Linked DNA regions of Homo sapiens: region 1 is linked to region 2. The links are contacts of gene promoters, found by promoter capture Hi-C in blood cells and fetal thymus (Javierre and others, 2016). All regions are on one chromosome and are shown on one strand. Each heading gives the region's core, a stretch centred on a gene start or on the middle of the fragment in contact. The rest is flanking DNA. Distances are from core to core; before and after follow the strand shown.

Region 1 (5,827 bases), core at 2,692-5,191, 510 kb before region 2:
TCAATCTTGGGAGGTTGTATGTTTCCAGGAATTTATCTATTTATTCTAGTTTTTCTAGTGTGTGTACATAGAGGTGTTCATGGTCCTTTCTGAGGGTTTTTTGTATTTCTGTGGGGTCAGTGGTAATGTTCTTTCTGTCATTTCTGATTGTGTTTATTTCGATCTTCTTTCTTTTTTTCTTTATTAGGATAACTAGCAATCTATCAACCTTATTTATTCTTTCAAAGAACAAACTCTTGGGTTCATTGATTTTTGTATGGTTTTTTTAATCTCAATTTTGTTGAGTTCAGCACTGTTTTTTATCATTTCTTACCCTGTGCTAGCTTTGGAGTTGGTTTGCTCTTGTTTCTCTACTTCCTTTAGGTATGATGTTAGGTTGTTAATTTGAGATCTTGCTAACTTTTTGATGTGGGTGTTTAGTGCTATAAACTTCCCTCTTAACACTACTTTAACTATGTCCCAGAGATTCTGGTATGTTGTATCTTTGTTCTCATTAGTTTCAAAAGAACTTCTTGATTTCTTCCTTAATTATATGGTTTACCTCAAAGTCATGTGGGAGCAGATTGTTTAATTTCCATGTAATTGCATGGTTTTGAGTAATTTTCTTAGTTTTAATTTCTATTTTTATTGTGCTGTTGTCTGAGAGTGTGGTTGGTATGATTTTAGTTTTTTAAAATTTGATAAAGATTGTTTTATGGCCGACTATGTGTTCAATTTTAGAGTATGTGCCATATGCAGATGAGAAGAATGTATATTCTGTTGTTTTTGGGTGAAGAGTTCTGTAGATGCCTGTTAGGCCCATTTGGTCAAATGCTGAGTTCAGGTCCTGAATATCTTTGTTAGCTTTCTGCCTTGATTTTCTGTCTAATACTGTCAGTGAGGTGTTGATGTTTTCCACTATTATTGCATGGTTATCTGAGTCCTTTCATAGGTCTCTAATAACTTGCGTTATGAATCTGGGTGCTTCTGTGTTAGGTGCCTATATATTTAGGATAGTTAAGTCTTCTTGTTGAATTGAACTCTTTAATGTTATATAATGCCCTTCTTTGTCTTTTTTGATTGTTATTGGTTTGAAGTCTGTTTTGTCTGAAATCAGAATAGCAACCTCTGCCTTTTTCTGTTTTCCATATGCTCAGTAGATTTTTCTCCATTCATTTACTTTGAGTTTATGGGTGTCATTTCATGTGAGATAGAACTCTTGTAGACAGCATAGAGTTGGGTCTTGTGTCTTTATCCAGCTTGCCAATCTGTGCCTTTTGATTAGGGCATTTAGTCCATTTACATTCAAGGTTAATATTGATATGTGCAGGTTTCATCCTGTCATTGTGTTGTTAGTTGATTATTATGCAGACTTGATTGTGTGGTTGCTTTATAGTGTCAATGATCTATATATGTAAGTGTGTTTTTGTGGCAGCTGGTAACGGTCTTTCCTTTCCATGTTTGGTACTCCCTTAAGTACCTCTTGTAAAGCTGGTCTGGTGATAACAAATTCCCTCAGCATTTGCTTGTCTGAAAAGGATCTTAATTCTGTTTTGCTTATAAGCTTAGTTTGGTTGGATATGAAATTCTTGATTGGGATTTATTCTCTTTAAGAAATGCTGAATATAGGCCCCCAATCTCTCTTCTGGTTGGTAGGGTTTCTGCTGAAATGTCTGCTGTTAGCCTGATGGGATTCCTTTACAGGTAACTTGCCCCTTTTCTCTAGATGCCTTTAACATTTTTTTCTTTCATTTTTTTTTTTTTTTTTTTTGGAGAATCCAATGAGTACGTGTCTTGGGGATAGTTGTCTTGTATAGAATCTCACAGGGCTTCTCTGCATTTCCTGTATTTGAATGTTGGCCTCTTTAGTGAGGTTGGGGAAATTTTCATGGATGATACCCTCAAATATGTTTTCCAAATTGCCTGTTTTTTCTCCCTCTCTTTCATGGATGCCAGTAAGTCATAGATGTGTCTCTTTACATAATCTCATATTTCATGGAGGTTTTCATTATTCTTTATTGTTTCTTAAAAATTTTTGTCTGACTGAGTTATTTCAAAGAACCAGTCTTTGAGCTCTGAGATTTCAAGATTTTTTTTTTTTTTTTTTTTTTTTTTTTTTGAGACAAAGTCTCACTCTGTAGCCCAGGCTGGAGGACAGCGGCACAATCTCAGCTCACTGCAACTCTGTCTCCTGGGTTCAAGCAAGGGTTGTATCTCAGCCTTCTGAGTAGCTGGAATTATAGGTGCATGCCACCATGCCCAGCTAATTTTTGTATGTTTAGTAGAGACGGGGTTTCACCATGTTGCTCAGTCCGGTCTCAAACTCCTGGATTCAACCAGCCCACCAGCCTTGGCCTCCCAAAGTGCTGGAATTATGGTATGAGCCACCATGCCCAGCCAGCTCTGAGATTCTTTCCTCAGCTTGGTCGATTCTGCTGTTAATACTTGTGATTCTGTTATGAAGTCCTTGAAGTGAGTTTTTCAGCTCTATCAGTTCAGTTTGGTTCTTTCTTAAAATAGCCATTTTGTCTTTTATCTCCTGTATTGTCTTCCTGTATTTCTCACAGTCCTTGGATTGGGTTTTGACTTTCTCCTGAATGTTGATGATTTTCATTTCTATCTATATTCTGAATTCTATTTCTGGCATTTCAGCCATTTCAGCCTGGTTAAGAACCATTGCTGGGGAACTAGTGTTGTTATTTGGAAACAAAAAGAACTCTGGCTTTTTGAGTTGCCAGACTTCTTGCACTGGTTCTTTCTCATCCGTGTGGGGTGATGTTCCTTTAATCTTTGAAGTTGCTGTCTTTATGTGTGTTTTTTTTCTTTTATCTCCTTTGATGCCCTTGGGGGTTTGATTATGGTATAAGGTGGGTTTAGTCAACTTGCTTTGATTCTAGTCCACTCTTGGATCTTGGAGGAGCCCCTTCTGATTACTGTCTCTATATCCACGTTTTGTTGTTGGGTGTTCTGGTACATGGGGCTCCCTCAGGCAGGGGCCACAGTTGGCCAGCTGGCTGTATGCTTTCTGGGTTGGCCTTAATTTGCTGTCTGAGTGCTTTCTGGCTGGGAGAAGACAGGGTTGTGCCTGCCCACAGAGTTCAGGCAGAAGCAGGACTACTGGGCTTGAAGCTCTAGCAGGCCTGGCTGGCCTGGCTATGAGAGGCAGGGATGGGTGGAGTCACCTACTCTGCCATTTGGGTGTTCTTCCTAGGACGACAGGAGGCTGTATCTGCCAGCTAAGTTCAGACAGAAGTGGGACCACTGGGCTGGAAATTCTAGCAGGTGTTGCCCACCTGGCTACCAGCAGCCAGGGGGTGGGTGGGGTCACCCATCCTGCCACTTGGGCATTTCCCAGGACAGTGGGAGGCTGCACCTGCTGGCTGAATTCAGACAGAAGTCGGACTGCTGGGCTGGAAGCTCTAGCAGGCATTGCTTACCTGGCTATCAGTGGTAGGGGTGGGTAAGGTTGCCTACCCTGTCATCCAGGTGATTCCCAGGATAACAGGAGGCTGTAGCTGTCAGCTGAGTTTGCACAGAAGTGGGACTGTTGGGCCAGAAGCTGGTGCCAAGCTCCATCTGGCGAGGGGCAGGTAGAGCAATCTTACTGCTCCCAGGCACCATGACTGTGGTCTCTATTGAGGCTATGGCACTGGTACTGGTCTGCTCTGGGGTCTCAGGCCTGGAGAGGTCCCCTTGGACTCAAGAGTTGCCCCTGCGAAATGTCCAGGTGGTTCTCTGCCTTAGTCTTGAAGTGCAGTGGGGGGTGTGGGAAGGCCAGGAGAATTCTCCCATTCTCAGTTTTGCACAGGTCCTCGTGGAAAGTGTGAATCCCTCAGGGGGCTCTCACTCACTCATCCTTTCTGGTATTGGAGAGATTCTCCTGGCTCTGCACTGAGCCCAGACAGGCTGGTGCCCAGTTCTGCTCTCTATGTTTCTTGGCTACCTTGATGGATCCCAATGTGTGTGTGTGTGTGTGTGTGTGTGTGTGTGTGTGTGTGTGTGTGTTTAGATGGAGTCTTGCTTTGTTGTGCAGGCTGGAGTGCAGTGGCACCATCTTGGCTCACTGCAACCTCTGCCTCATGGGTTGAAGCAATTCTCCTGCCTCAGCCTCCCGAGTAGCTGGGACTACAGGCATGTGCCACCCAAGCCCAGCTAATTTTTGTATTTTCAGTAGAGACGGGGTTTCACCATGTTAGCCAGGTTGGTCTCAAACTCCTGACCTCAGGCAATCTGCCCACCTCGGCCTCCCAAAGTGCTGGGATTATAGTCATGAGCCACTGCACCCGACCACAGTGTAGTTTTTCAGATGACTGGCCTGCAGGGTCAGTGTTCACTAGCCCTTTTGTTTCCTTTCTGTGAGAGTGGTGCACATGAGCTGCTTCTAGTCTGGCATCTTGGTCCAGTTCCATCTTGGTCCAGTTCCACTCTATCCTTCCTGGCTTCATTCATTTGCATCGTTGTTAACATCCCTTCTCAACAAAACTAAAGGATCTCCCTCAAGATGCACATTCCTGAGAAGTCAGGGAGTGTGTGTGTGTGTGTGTGTGTGTGTGTGTGTGTGTGTGTGTGCATGTGAACGCATGCGTGGACATATGCATTCATCATAAATAGACTGTAAGTCCCACTTAACTATATCACTATATTAATTTGCTCATTCCCTTGGTAAAATTCTTTGGTAACCATCAGAGGCTAGTGGAATGCTCCCTAACAGGTGTGTGCATTTCTGTTTCTACAAGCAAATGTCAGAAGAGTCAATAGTGTTTGCTCCCAAACGTGATCGTACCAGTTGTAAATGACATACTGTAAATGTCATAGTTAAACATTATATAAACTGAAAGTGTGAAAATGAAATTTTTAAACAATAACTCAGAGATTCTATAAAGATTAACTGCCGAGCGCAGTGGCTCACGCCTGTAATCTCAGCACTTTGGGAGGCCAAGGCGGGCAGATCATGAGTTCAAGAGATCGAGACCATCCTGGTGAAACCCCATCTCTACTAAAAATACAAAAATTAGCTGGGTGTTGTGGCACGCACTTGTAGTCTCAGCTACTCGGGAGGCTGAGGCAGGAGAATCGCTTGAACCCGGGAGGTGGAGGTTGCAGCGAGCTGAGGTTGCGCCACTGCACTCCAGCCTGGGTGACAGGGTGAGACTCCGTCTCAAAAAATAAAAATAAATTAAAAAAAAGAAACTGCGGCCATATTAAGTACAAAAGGGAAAAAGAGTAGAAATCTAGAAGAACAATGCTCTGAGATTACTTCATCAGTTTCTTTAAATTTAGTTCTCTTTAGAGACCTGGACAGTGCACATTGTTTGTTTACATAAGGAAGAGGTTATATAATTCATTCTACAGACTCCTGCTTAAAGAAAAGGGCTGTGCTTACAATACATGTGATGAATAAAAAGGAATATTTGAGCTGTGTGTGTATGCAATCTCTTATTTTGCTTTCTCACTTGATGTGACTTTTTCAATTAATTGATTGCATTAGATAAAAGGGCTTCTTCTGAATTTTAATTTTAACACTTTCTCCTGTCACAGTAAGGTTGTGTACAATAAATTCTGTTTTTAAGAAAAGGAATGTTTTGAGCTCACTGGCTGGAAGTGTTTTAGAAAAACTCTTAAGCCTGGTCATAAAACTAACTCTTGAATTCCACTGTTTGTCTCAGAGCAGTGGCAAGAATAGCTGAAAAGTTAAGCAATAGGTTTGACAACAAAATAGGTAAGTCATCTCAAGCGACTCTTGACATGTTTCAAATGCAGAACATATCAGGGTTGGAAGATATTGTCATTGCTGACCTTGACACACTGGCTAGTGGGAATTAATTTATAAAAGGTAAATAACCAAGGA
Region 2 (5,563 bases), core at 2,736-5,235:
AAGCTAAATTTAGAACATGGTTTCCAAAATGCATTGCCTACAATTCTCTCCACACAATGAAAAGCATGAGAACGACGAAGCAAATCTTTGAAACAATCACATACACTGAACCTTGAATAAGTGCTCTTGCTTATGTTTTGTGAGAGTCTATTGTGTTGGACCTCTCAGCTATTCTGAACATACACTGAGAAAACATATTTCACACACAAAAAAATCCCAGTGGGAAGTGAGGAGTTGGTGCATTTATTCAAGTAATATTTAGGAAGTGCCTGAGATAATGCAATTTAACATGTCGCCCTGTGTTTCCTTCAAGTCTTGGGAACCCAAGAATACAGCCTTAATGTCTTGAAAACAATAAAGTTCCATTTATTACATTTTCTGTTCATGAATTTCATTATATTTAATATCTTTTCCAAGCAGACTCTATTCTGCTCACCTGGAGAGCTTCTATTCATATGATGCTCCCTTAAATAAAGTTCTTCCTCTATGTAATTTTTCCTTTGCATTCTTTCCATACAATATATGTGCTATGGCTATTGCACACTTAGCTCTTTTCACAGCTCTCACCAATACTGGGAACCCTCTAGGGCTGGTTTTACTAATACAACACCAGGAATACCATCTCTAGATGTATCTGTTAACTTAGCCAAGAAGACAAAATCCTACTGCAAACCTTAAACTTAGAGAGGTTATACAAGCCTTCTTCTGAGTACTTCTGTCATTCTATCCAGCATCGTAGGTACAGCCATGGGGATGAGGATATCTGAAAACATCTCAATGACTCATCCCCTGTTGTCTCCCATTCCTTCCTCCTCCCACTCCTGCAATCTCAGTCTGAGAGGGACTAGGGTGCTCTGTGTAGAAGCACTCCTGAACACTACCCCTTTCAGAAATCCATTTTACAAGCATTCTAGGTGCTGGGTCCAGCTCTGTCTGCAATGTGGCTTACTTTCTTAAGTGTATCACATCTGCTTAGAACTTCCTTCCAGTTAATGAGTCTTTCTTGAATCAAGCCTGAAGGGCTTTTGATCTCAGTACCAATCAACTTCAGGCTAAGATGCTGGGCACTAGCTGGGCTGGCAAAGCTGGCCCAAACCCAGGCTCTATTTCAAGGAAGAATAAACAAACTTAGCCTGAAGTTATAACATGGAATGTCAAGATAAAGAAATTCCTCCTAGACTGACACCACTGCTCAGACCACACCTGGAGCTTGGTGCCAGTTCCACACCCACAAAATTTAAAGTGTTTCTTTAAAAAAATGATTGTAAGATAATACATGTTAGGTAGCAAAGATGGGGAACATTAAAGACATAGTAAAAAAGAAAAATATAATTAATCACACTATGCAGAAGAAACCATTTTTCTTTCAAACCCACAACCCAACATCATAGAAGCCATTGTTAAAATCATTCAACCTGGCTGGGTGCCGTGGCTCACGCTTGCAATCCCAGCACTTTGGGAGACCGCAGTGAGCAGATCATGAGGTCAGGAGATCAAGACCATCCTGGCCAACATTGTGAAACCCCGTTTCTACTAGAAGTACAAAAATTAGCTGGGCATGGTGGTGCACACCTTTAGTCCCAGCTACTTGGGAGGCTGAGGCAGGAGAATCGCTTGAACCCAGGATGTGGAGGTTGCAGTGAGCCAAGATCACGCCACTGCACTCTACCCTGGTGACAGAGTGAGACTCTGTCTCAAAAAAAAAAAAAATCATTCAATCCTTTTTAGTTTGTAGTTTTATTTAGTTGAGATATAATTTTGCAGGCTGCTCTACTCACATTTAATATACTACAAAACATGTTTCTGATATTTAGATACTATTCATGAATATCATTCTGAATGAGTAAAAAAAATTTTAACAGATAAATAAATGTATCCATAAATTAATTTATCAATCCCCACTGTTGAATAGTTGGGCTATTTTCAATTTCTCACTCGTAAGTAACAATGAAATGAACATCTATATGCACATCTTTGTTTTCCCCCCTTGAATGACTATGATTCTAAATGGCTGTATTATACAAATGAGATAATCTACAAATGAGATAATCAATGTTGGTGAATTTCCAACATTGAGCCAAAGGATGATGAGCCAAAGGAACCTTGTCTCCTCCCCATGCAGAGGGGTGTAATTGACCTCACAAACAGCTGGAAGCCAGGGATCTCCAGACTCAGCCCAGCGTGGTTTGGGAAGGGAAGTCTTTGCCATCATCTCAGCCCTGTCTGTGTGGGAGCACATTCCAGCATGAAAAATCAATTGGCTTTTGTCAGACAATAAATATCACCAAAAGAAAATCCAAAGACGTTTTTAAGACAGAAAAAAATATTCCCTTTCCTTTTCTTTTGGAAATAGCTTAATTTTTTTCATCTTGGTCTTAAAAGAAATCGCCACTAGAAGAATCACTCTTTTTCCTGTCATAGCCACACAATGCCCTTCAATGCCAAACTGAGTCCATAAGACTGTTTGTTCTGTAGATTGCAAAGTTTGTCCTAGAGTGTGCTTTTTCCTTTTAAGACCTTATCAGCTGATTTAAAAATAAACATTATTAGCTATTTTTTTCAACAATAGGATAAAAATTCAATTTAAGTAACATTTGTTAAGCTCATATATATTTCTTTCTTTTTGGTAGGCACTCTGGGGTAGAAAGGTGAGTGAGAATCAGTCCTGGTTCTTAGGGGTAGAGTCAAGAAACAGAGAGAGTAGATATGATTTTCAAGCCTTTGGAATTCTGCAGCATTGCCTCAAGGTAGCCATGAGGTGGGACAGAGAATGAATGGGAACCCATTTAAATCAAAGATAATTGGCTAAAATAAGTTTCCGAACTTAGCATATAGCTGAGTAAGTTAAGTGCTACAAGAGAGGGGAAGAAAAGTGAACATAAGAGGGAAAATTCCTCCTGTCCCCATGGAGGGACTTTGCAGGGCCCATGAGTTGGGCCTTGAAGGACAGGCAGATTTTTCACCGGAAAGAGTGAAGGTTCCTCCTTGCTGAGGGAACACAATCAGGGACAGATACTGGGAAGTGCAAGGCATGCTGGGCACTCAGTATGACTAACGATAGGTTAGTAGGAGGTGTGCTGCTAGACGTAATAGACATGTTGTTTGGAAGAGTGGTTTAGGACAGAATGTGGAGTTTTTCTATCCTGCTGGAAGAAGAGAGAGCCAGAGGTTTTTGAAGACAGATGTCTCATGAGAAGAGCTGTGTCCTAGAAAGGTGTTTCTGGCAGCTAGGGGAGAGAGAACTTAGGCTTGGGTCAAGTCCAGATTTAGGAAGACCAATTAAAAAACAAACACATCGTCTACACAAGAGATGATGGTGGCGGGAAGGCAGGATACAGAACAAACTGAGTCCATAAGTGAAAGGCACAGGGTGGCTAAGCTATGACAGGAGAAAGTGATTCTTGAGAGGAATGATTTCTTTTAAGACCAGAAAAAAAATTTAAGCTATTTCCAGGAGAGAAGGAAAATGATTTTGTTTTTTTCTGTCTTAACAACACCTTTAGATTTTCTTTTGGTGGTATTTATGGCCTGACAAAAGCCAATTGATTTTTCATGCTGGCATGTGTTCCTGCACAGAGACTGGGGCTGAGATAATGGTGCAGGAAAGTGGAGTCACAGCATTAAAAGGCAGGTGGCCCTTCTCATAGAGTGGTGAATCAGTAGGACTTGGGGACCTACTAGAGAGAAAAGGTAGGGAAGCCAGAGATCTCTCCTGGATTTCAAGTCCAAGATATGGGGTGATTGTGGTGTCACTCCTGGAGTTAGAGCCCACAGAAGCAGCAGCAGGAACGGAGCCATGAGAATGGAGAGTTTAGCTTTGGACATCCCGAGTTTGAGGAGTCTGCAGACCATCCACAGGGGTGGAGCTCAGAAGACGATGAGGGTGGAATTCTGTCTGCCTCAGGTGCTGGTTGAAGGTGGGGAGGAGGCAGTGGTAGGAGAGGAAAAGAGGAGGGCCTCAGGGAATGCCTGTGCTAAAGGGGTCAGTGCCATGGGAATGAGGAATGGAGAGGATCCCAGGAAGCACAGGAGGCAACACAAGTCAATGCCTCAGAGCCAGGGAACAGGATGAACAAGAACAATCAGAAGATGACCTTGAGCTAAATGAAGCAATTGCAGCAGGTGGGTGTGGGTGAACATCAGACCACGTCGAGGTGAGGAGGTGGGAAAGTGGAGATGTCATTCTCTCCCGGAAAATTTGGCAGTGCAGAGACGGACAGAGATTGGATAAGAACTTGAAAGAGGAACAGGGTTGGAAAATATTGTTTAAGGAAAGGAATGATTTTGGTATATTTTTAGGCTGAAGAGAAGAGATGGGGGTGGGGGAGGATGCGAATAGCATGAAGGTGTAAGGGATAAAAGATGTATTTTTATAAATTTTTTGATGTCTCTCTTCTTCATCAGAGCAGGGATTCAGAACAATGTGACTTCTTTCCAGTCTTAAATTTAGAACAACTCAACGACTCCTCTCAATTCCCACTTGCCTCTTAGAAATCATGTCTTTTGTGGCTACAGAGGTTTTCAAGTATTCAAAATATATATTAATGCACTTTGGAGTCGTATTTCTTCTCTTGAGCTCAGTTATATTTTTAGTTATCCTTTAATTTTTTTTCTAAAAATGTTGCTAGTAACTGGAACAATAATAGTTATTTTATTTCTTCCACGTATATTCAATGTGCCATTTGTACATATATCTTAGGTGCATTGTATACATATATAAATATATATATGTCTGTATCTATATCTGTATATCTATATCTATCTTGCATGTATGTTCATTTCCAAAGTCACAGTAAAAAAAATTTTTAAGGAGAGAGTGGTTCACAGGGTCAAGGGCTACAAAGGTGGCAAACAAGATTGAGATTTAAAACTGTCCACCGGAGGCCATTCTTTGTCAAAATCAGTGACTTTTGTGGCTAAAGAGGTTTTCAAGGACTGACACTATATTTTAGTGCTTTTTAGAGTCCTATTTCTCTTCTTTTGCTCAGTTATATTCTCGGTGTGGGCAGAAGGCAGGCTGCAGTGGATTAATACATGAAAAGGCGAGCTGGGAAACTGAGGCAATGACTTCAGAAACCGAGCTGCAGGGGCACAGGTGAATAGGGGGTTGAGAAAATCATTTATTTATTATTAAGAATGTGGGAGATTTGTGTGTGTTTATATTCTGGTGAGAAGACAGCATGTGAGAGGAAGAGACTAATGATGCAAAGATTAGAAATGATAACGGACAGAGCCCCAGAGCAGGTGAGAGGGGATGAAATTCAAAGCACAGAAGGAGGCCATCCCCGGGGCCACAGCATTGTCTAGGAGGGAGGGTGGTGAGTGCAGGATAGGAGAAAAGCCCCGGGTCACGCAGGAGGTCACAGGCAGAGCTGGACTAGAATCCATGCCTCTCCATGCCTCATCTGGAGCGCCATGTGTGCTGTGTGATCTTCGTGTCATTTCCCTCATGGGAATGGCCCCAAATGCTTTTCATTGATTAAGATGAGCAGAACAGAACTACAAATTTTGCCATTCAGACGTGGTCCAATATTGGCCATTTCATGTGGTTCCACCTAATCTT

Evidence for each region. Contacts are between HindIII fragments. The CHiCAGO score rates a contact against its expected background, and 5 or more counts as called.
Region 1: a contact is called between a fragment that was not itself captured here and the fragment with the promoter of ELMO1-AS1 in region 2, in 1 of 17 cell types (M1 macrophages). The highest score is 5.4, in M1 macrophages.

What each region holds. Positions count from the first base shown.
Region 1 is chr7:36,479,728-36,485,554 of GRCh38, forward strand. No RefSeq gene overlaps it. Among named protein-coding and RNA genes, the nearest start is that of ANLN, 93 kb to the left of the region's middle. The HindIII fragment of the contact is 4,800 bases long and covers 1,542-5,827 here.
Region 2 is chr7:36,993,811-36,999,373 of GRCh38, forward strand. It overlaps ELMO1-AS1 (ELMO1 antisense RNA 1), which reads left to right and starts at 3,986. Exons shown (of 3, transcript NR_104120.1): 1 at 3,986-4,122. The region is part of intron 16 of ELMO1 (engulfment and cell motility 1); the gene reads right to left. The HindIII fragment of the contact is 6,356 bases long and covers 1-5,563 here.